2 separate regions of the Homo sapiens genome follow, and region 1 is linked to region 2. Evidence: promoter capture Hi-C in human tissues and cell types (Jung and others, 2019). All regions are on one chromosome and are shown on one strand. The core of a region is centred on a gene start or on the middle of the fragment in contact, and the rest is flanking DNA. Distances in the headings are between cores, read along the strand shown. Region 1 has its middle 40 kb from the start of SNORA48B. Region 2 holds the start of ARSF (arylsulfatase F).

Region 1 (4,211 bases), core at 575-3,074, 450 kb after region 2:
TCCCATCCAATAAAACAGGGGTCCCCAACCCCCAGGCCATGGACCAGTACCAGTCCACCGCCTGTTACAAAGCGAGCCACACGACAGGAAGTGATCAGCAGGTGGGCGAGCAAGCAAAGCTTCATCTGTACTGACAGCCATTCCCCATCGCTCACATAACCACATGAGTTCCGCCTCCTGTCAGATCAGTAGTGGCATTAGATTCTCATAGGAGCATGAACCCTACTGTGAACTACCCATGCAAGGGATCTAGGTTGATGCTCCTTAAGATAATCTAATGCCTGATGATCTGTCATTGTCTCCCATCACCCCCAGATGGGACCTTCCAGTTGCAGGAAAACAAGCTCAGGGCTCCCACTGATTCTACATTATGGTAAGTTGTAGAATTATTTCATTATGTATTCCAATGTAACAGTAATAGAAATAAAGTGCACAATCAATGTAATGTGCTTGAATCATCCCGATGCCATTGTCCTGCCCCAGATCCCTGTAAAAATTGTCTGACATGAAACCTGTCCTTGGTGCCAAAAAGGTTGGGGACCACTGCAATACAGAGTGGAAGGTGAAGTAGAGTGTACAGAAATAATCCAACAGGAAGGAGCTGGTTGTTAGCTGGTGCATGTAGCCTTCTTGGACCACTCTCTACTCTTTACCGTCTCTATCTTGTCAGCACCAATACTCATCAATATTTCATATGGCAAATATGAGTTTAGAATGGGCATACCATAATCAACCTAAACAAGTGATTCGTCTATTACGACAGACACTACCTACTAATACTAATGTCTCAATACTTATTATTATTCATGCATTCATGAGCTATGACTATTGTAAACATGGAGGCAAGTTCTTTACAACTGAATGACCTACCCAAAAGTCAGGATGAGGGAAGACTCCAGCTCATTAACTATCAATCTAGTATTCAAGAAAAAGACCAAATGGTGCTTGTCAAATTGAGTTTAAAAGTCTACTCCTGGCTGGACGCGGGTGGCTTACGCCTGTAATCCCAGCACTTTGGAAGGCCGAGGCTGGCAGATCACAAGGTCAGGAGATCGAGACCATGCTGGCTAACACAGTGAAACCCCGTCTCTACTAAAAATACAAAAAAATTAGCCGGGCGAGATGGCGGGCACCTATAGTCCCAGCTACTCAGGAGGCTGAGGCAGGAGAATGGTGTGAACCCGGGAGGCAGAGCTTGCAGGGAGCCGAGATTGCACCACTGCACTCCAGCCTGGGTGATAGAACGAGACTCCATCTCAAGAAAAAAAAAAAAAAGCCTACTCCTATTATAAATTTTCTCTGCCCAGCTTTAAATGCAAAGTTCCATAGCTGAAATTAATTGTTGGTTTCTCGACAGAAAACAGGAGCAAGCTGTGTTGAGTCACTTCATGGTATGTCTTACCATGGGATTGTTGACCAGGATAACATTTTATTAGACCTAATTAGGGATTCATTAGTGGGAAATACGCGTATTTGGATTTCGCAGATGATGAGACATGCCCTGTTTGTTTGCCTCATCGAATTTTGACAGATAAGATGCCTGGGTGACCCCGTCAAAGGGAAATTCTACTGTGGTTTGAAATATTAGAGCCATAGCAAAGCTTGCTTCTCAAAAACATACCAGCCCAAAGGCATATGTTTTGCATAATATTTATTGCAATATTTGGGCATGTTGATATACAGCATAAAGATTCTTTGCCACTTGTGCCTTTTGGGTTAATAGATTGTTATGTCTTTGATCTTCTGCCAAGTTAAAGGTTATTTGGTAGTTTCTATGAATTCAGAGACAATTTTACAAACCATCGCCTTTCCAGTGTGAAAAGAATGCCTGGGTGAAGTGACAGTAGCAATTGCATCTTCATGAAACGGAGCGAGAATGCATCGTCTCCCACGTTGGGTGAATGGGACCTGATTGGTGAGGCTGACAGTTTCATTGGTGGTGGAGAGGAAAAACTTATTTAAAACAAATAAATGCATTTTGCCAAGGGCTGTCACCTTTGCCAAGGAAGCTGAGTTTGAATCCACCCTGCAGAAGGTGCAAAGAATCTTTAAGCAATATGTAAACATGACCAAATATTGTGACAAATAAATAAACAGGGAACACAAGTTTTCAAGAGAGGGACGTGACGGAGGAAGCAGTCTCAGTTACCCCTTCTAGCAGCAAGGCTACCAGGAGGAAGGTGCTCCAAATGCCATGGGCAGAGCAGGATGACCAGAGGGGCATCCTGTTCTGAGCAATGAGGGGCCCAGAAAACACAGAAACACCTTAGAGAGTGGCTGCATTAGTCTTTTATCAATGTTTAAGCATGGATTTTTTACATGGAATCACAGTTATCCATTCCATATTGCTGACTAAATGGCTACATTATTTATTTTTTTCTGATCCTTCATTCTTTCATTTGTATTTGGAAACAGCAAACACTGTTTTCAGATGACCACAGAATATTACTACAGTGAATGTTTTCCAGCAAAAGGTATAATATTTTTTATTCTGTGCTAGTTCAGTGCTTAATGCATAGTAAGAGTCATGCATACATACATACATACACACACAAACAAGTACATACATAGGCATTGTCATGGCTAATTATATGTGTCAACCTGGCTGCGCCATGGGGTTCCCACATATTTGGTCAAATGTTACTCTAGATGTGTTTATGAATATTATTCTGGTTGAGATTAATGAATCAATCAGTAGACTTAGTAGAGTGGATTGTCTTCTGTTATGTGGGTAACAGAGCAATTGGTTCAACGGTGGTGTCATTAGGGAACAGGGAGGAAAGACAAGAAAACAGAAAAGTTGTTGGCCACTGTGGAAAACAGTGTGGAGATTCCTTAAATAACTAAAAGTAGAACTACCATTCGATCCAGCAACCCCACTCCTGGGTATCTATCCAGAAGAAAAGAAGTCATTATATGAAAAAGGATTGTCCTCTGTTATGAGGGTGGACATAGAACAAAGAAAAAAATGGAGTAACAAAGAATTTGCTCTCTCTGCCTGTCTTCAAGCTGGGACAATAGTTTTACTCCTGACTCCACATTAGACTCAGGCTGCAACTCTTACCATTGGCTCTCCTGGGTCTCAGACCTTCAGAGTCAGACTGGAGCTCTCACCATCAGCTCTTCTGGGTCTTGGGCCTTCAGACTCAGACTGGAACTCACACCCTCAGCTCTCCTGGGACTCAGACCTTCAAACTCAGACTGGAACTCTCACCATCAGTTCTCCTGGGTCTCAGGCCTCCATACTCAGACTGGAACTCATGTCATCAGCTCTTCTCAGTCTCAGGCCTTCACACAGGAACTCACACCCTCAGCTCTCCTGGGTCTCAGACCTTCAGACTCAGACTGGAACTCTCATCATCAGCTCTCCTGGGTCTCAGGCCTCCATGCTCAGACTGGAACTCACATCATCAACTCTTCTCAGTCTCAGGCCTTCACACAGGAACTCACACCATCAGCTCTCCTGGGTCTCAGGTCATCACACTGGAACTCAAACCATCAGCTTTCCTGGATCTCAGGCTGTCACACTGGAACTCACACCATTGGCTCTCCTGGGTCTCAGGACTTCAGACTCAGAATGGAACTCACATCCTTGGCTTTCTCAGGTCTTAGACCTTCAGACTCAGACTGAAAGTCACACCCTTGGCTCTTCTGGGTCTCAGACCTTCAGACTGGAACTCATACCATCCGCCTTCCTGGGTCTCCAGGCTTAATAACTAAATCTACAGGCAGCATTATGGGTGAATCTTAGAAATTCAAAATTGGCAGAAAAAAATATATAGGAGAGGATGTGCTATGTTAGCAATAACTATGATTCAAAAGTGAGCAAAAGTGAACCATAAAATTTAATGCACCCAGATAAATTTAATTTTTAATTTACAAACAATCAATGTATGTATGTATGTATGGAGTACAGTGTGATATTTTGAAATATGCATACCTTGTGGAAGGATTAAATTGAGCTAATTGCCATATTCATTGCTTCACCTACTTATTCGTTTTGTGTGTGTGGTGAGAACATTTAAAAATCCACTCTCTCAGCCACTTTGATTTTTAGTTGCTTTTTTTGAGACAGAGTCCTGCTCTGTTGCCCAGGCTAGAGCGCAGTGGTGGGATCTCGGCTCACTGCAATATCTGCCTCACGGGTTCAAGCTATTCTCCTGTCCCAGCCTCCCAAGTAGCTGGGATTACAGGTCTGCACCACCATGCCT
Region 2 (4,110 bases), core at 811-3,310:
CCACCACGCCCGGCTAGTTTTTGTATTTTTAGTAGAGACGGGGTTTCACCTTGTTGGCCAGGCTGGTCTCGAACTCCTGATGTCAGGTGATCCGCCCGCCTCAGCCTCCCAAAGTGCTGGAATTACAGGCTTGAGCCACTGTGCCCAGCCTTCAGTTTGGTTTTGTCCAGTGTTTTCTCATGATTAGACTGAGGTTATGCATTTTTGGCAAAAAAATCATCAGAATTGATGTAAGTTTTCAGTGTGTCATGTTACGGAGTGCATGATGTCTGTATGTCCTGTCCTGGTGATGTTAAATTTCATCACCTGGATTAAGTGGTGTCTGTTGGAATTCTCCACTGTGAAATTATTATTTTTTCTGATCCAGGAAAGGTTAAGCAAGAGTCTGGCACCATTTTAAGTCTAATAAGAAACATTTACTACCTGATTTCTCTGAAGCCTGCTACCTGCGGGCTACATGTGCATAATAAAAACTTTGGTCTCCTCAACGCCTTATCCTCACCCAGACATTTCCTTTCTACTAATTACAGGTCTTTAATCAGAAAATCCTGGAATCCACCTACGACCTGGAAGTTCCTCACTTTGAATGGAATCCCACCTTTCTGGACTAAGCCAATGTACATCTCACATGTGTCGATTGATGTCTCCTGTCCCCGTAAATTGTATAAAGCCAAGCTGTCACCCAACCACCTTGGGCACTTGTTCTCAGGACCTCCTTGGGGCTGTGTCGTGAGCCATTGGTTAAATGAATAACTCTTTTCAAATATTTTACAGAGTTTGACTCTTTTCATGGACATTAATTGGTGCCCTACACGTGGGGCCTCAGAAAAGACTCAGAATCCTTGACGCAGTTGCCCGAACCCGGAGCTAAGTTACCCGCAGGGCCATTGGAAGCCCTCCCTGGCTTTAGGTTTCTCCTCCAGTGGAACCGGTGAGTCCTCTGCAGCTCTGGACCTTCCATTTGGTTGATGGTCCTTGGTTCATTCTGAGCTGTTTTTCTACCTCCTTTTTATTTTTCTCCTAGGAAGTTGTTGTATAGGATCCTACTTTAGGTTTGGTGGTGCATTCTAAATGGTCTTCTCCACTGCCCTTTTCCCCCCAAATTAATGTCGATTGGCCTGTGAGTACATTTGCGTGAGAGACTGAACTGCCACTTTTGTGGCATAATTTTGAATTGCCAAACGAGAGGCTGACCTCCTCAGCTTGGAAAAGAAAGGGAGTTTTGCTCCTCCTAGCCAAAAACCACCCCTGGGTGGTAGGGGTTGAGTGGGAGTCTCTGGGGGATTGACTCCTGCCATGATGTGCAGTGACCCTACAGGGAACCACACAACAAAATTAATTTTAAGAGGCTCATCCAGGAGACAGGTGTAAGAGCTGATCACTTGCTATGTTGAGCCCTGTCAGAGGTCTAGACCTCTGGAGAGAGAAACTCAGACACGTGAAAGGGTAGAAAGACTCAGTGGTGACACACAGTGTAGTCCCTCTCACAGCCAGCACACTTCAATCCACCCTACTAAAACCCAGGCCACAGTTTAGTTCCTCATTTTAAAATAAAAGTGGGAGACATAGCATGTAAGGATGAGGAAAGGCGGAGAGAGCGACCCCCATTTGGGCACCCCTTTTGGTTCTCTGGTTCCTCTACTTGCAAGTATTTGTGTAAGCGGGAAAAGCTTGAGGGCATGCCAGGTCAAACAAGAAGCTTCCTGTTACATATTATGTCTGTGCTTGTTCACACTTTAAACTGCTGCACACATTACACCAGAGAAAATTCCAGCCCAAAGGTCAACCTGCAACCAATCAGTTCCTAAGTCCTCTATTTTGCTATTTTCTTTTCTGCCTACTTTAAATCTTCTGTTTACTTTTTGTTCTTTTCTTTTCTTTTCTTTTTCTTTTTTTTTTTTTTTGAGACAGAGTCTTGCTCTGTCACCCAGGCTGGAGTGCAATGGCGCTATCTACTGCAGCCTCTGCCTTCCAGGTTCAAGCGATTCTCCTGCCTCAGCCTCCCCAGTAGCTGGGATTACAGACGTGCGCCACCACGTCTACGTAATTTTTGTATTTTTAGTGGAGACAGGCTCTCACCATGTTGACCAGGCTGGTCTCGAACTCCCGACCTCAAGTGATCCGCCGGCCTCGGCCTCCCAAAGTGCTGGGATTACAGGCGTGAACCACCACTCCTGGCCCTTCTGTTACTTTTCCACTGCTGTTGAGATAGAAGTCACTGTTGGGATCCAACCTTTTTGTTTGTATAAACTGGTGAGTTTGTGTTGATATCTCTTGCTAGAGTTCTGAAGTAAAAGCTATAGGATCTTTGTGTGAGTGTGCATGCGTATTTAGATGTGTTTATGTACATGCACATATGTGTGCACATATACATTTTTTACGTGCTTTAGCCCTGAAGTGTCAAATTGGCTTCAAGTCAAAGAGTACTCATAAATTAAATAATAAGCCAAAACGCTTTTCAAGTTCACGTGACTTACATAAATCTTTAATAAATAAGCTGGCTTTAAAATTATTGGTACGATAGTATTAGAAATATCTTAAAAATTGTCAGCATACATGTTTGTTTGCATTTACTGATCAAGCAGTTTCATATTTACCTCTGACAGATATTATAAGGTGTCAAAATTTGGCATAAGGCTTACAAAACTATAAACCCAGCAACCCAGCATGAAACACAATAATCTTTGTTTCTGTACTTTTTGAGAAATAAGACGTTTAATGTTATTAGTGTAGTAAAAAGAGCTAAATCCCAAGTTATCAGTAAAATATATATATATTTAAAATTTTTGCTTAGGCAAACACAGAAAATTCATAGACTATAAAAATGGTTAACAGGGAAATAACTTTAAATGATGACTATCAGAGTTTTCACAGATAATCTAGGTAAAAGATTTTATAAAATTAATTAGGTAAATGTAATGAAACAAATGCCTGTAAATAAATATAATTTAGAATCTAAAGTTAAATAATAGATATTCACTAAATGTCTGGGCCATTTTCAATTTAAATAAATTGTATTATAGAAAAACTTTTCTAAAAAATATGTTCTTATTCAAAGCTAAGTTATTTTCATCTAATTCCATGTTTATTTATTTATATTTTTTGAGATGGAGCCTCGCTCTGTCTCCCAGGCTGGAGTGCAATGGTGCAGTCTCAGCTCACTGCAACCTCTGCCTCCCAGGTTCAAGCGATTCTCCTGCCTCAGCCTCCCTTGTAGCTGGGATTACAGGTGCCCACCACCATGCCTGGCTAATTTTTGTAATTTTAGTAGAGATAGGGGTCTTGCCATGTTGGCCAGGCTGGTCTCGAACTCCTAACCTCAGGTGATCCACCCACCTAAGCCTCCCAAAGTGCTGGGATAACAGGTGCAAGCCACCGCACCCGGCCAGATTCTAGGTTTATTTAAGGGTTATTTATGAAATATGGTAAAAGGAACCAAGAAACAAGAGATGTAAAGAAAGTTAGGCTGCGTGCATTGGGTCACACCTGTAATCCCAGCACTTTGGGAGGCTGAGGCAGGCGGATCATGAGGTCAGGAGTTTGAGACCAGCCTGACCAACACAGTGAAACCCCACCTCTACTAAAAATATAAAAATTAGTCAGGCATGGTGGCATGTGCCTGTAATCCCAGCTACTCAGGAGGCTGAGGTAGGAGAATTGCTTGCACCCGGGAGGCAGAGGTTGCAGTGAGCCAAGATCGTGCCACTGCACTCCAGGCTGGGTGACAGAGCGAGACTACTCCATCTCAAAAAAAAAGAAGAAGAAAGTTACAAGGAGGTATTTTTGGTAAGAAATGTTAAAAGAAAAATAATTTTGTATGAGAAAGAATCTTGTTGTTTAAGAGAGATGTTTAGGACAGAACAGAAAATCCAAGCAGGTTGTATATGGTCTGTGCAAGTCATAATACAGTCTGTAAAAAAGGAATTCAAAAAAATTTTTATGTAATTAAGTTTGCTATAACTAAAAGGAAATTATAATCATTCTAGGTATTGGACTTCAATAATAAAAATACAGTAATGCAAAAGGAGATCATTGGTTAGAACAAGATTTTCTTAAAATACTGATGTACTCAGTGAAATTGCAAGAAGTTTTTTATTTTTGAATTCCATA

The links. Contacts are between HindIII fragments. The study calls those that stand out against the background at their distance.
Region 1: a fragment that was not itself captured here is called in contact with the fragment with the promoter of ARSF in region 2 in 2 of the 25 tissues and cell types used here (mesendoderm cells and thymus).

What each region holds. Positions count from the first base shown.
Region 1 is chrX:3,490,516-3,494,726 of GRCh38, forward strand. No RefSeq gene overlaps it. Among named protein-coding and RNA genes, the nearest start is that of SNORA48B, 40 kb to the right of the region's middle. The HindIII fragment of the contact is 6,620 bases long and covers 1-4,211 here.
Region 2 is chrX:3,039,411-3,043,520 of GRCh38, forward strand. ARSF (arylsulfatase F) reads left to right here and starts at 2,061. Exons shown (of 11, transcript NM_001201539.2): 1 at 2,061-2,253. The HindIII fragment of the contact is 6,572 bases long and covers 541-4,110 here.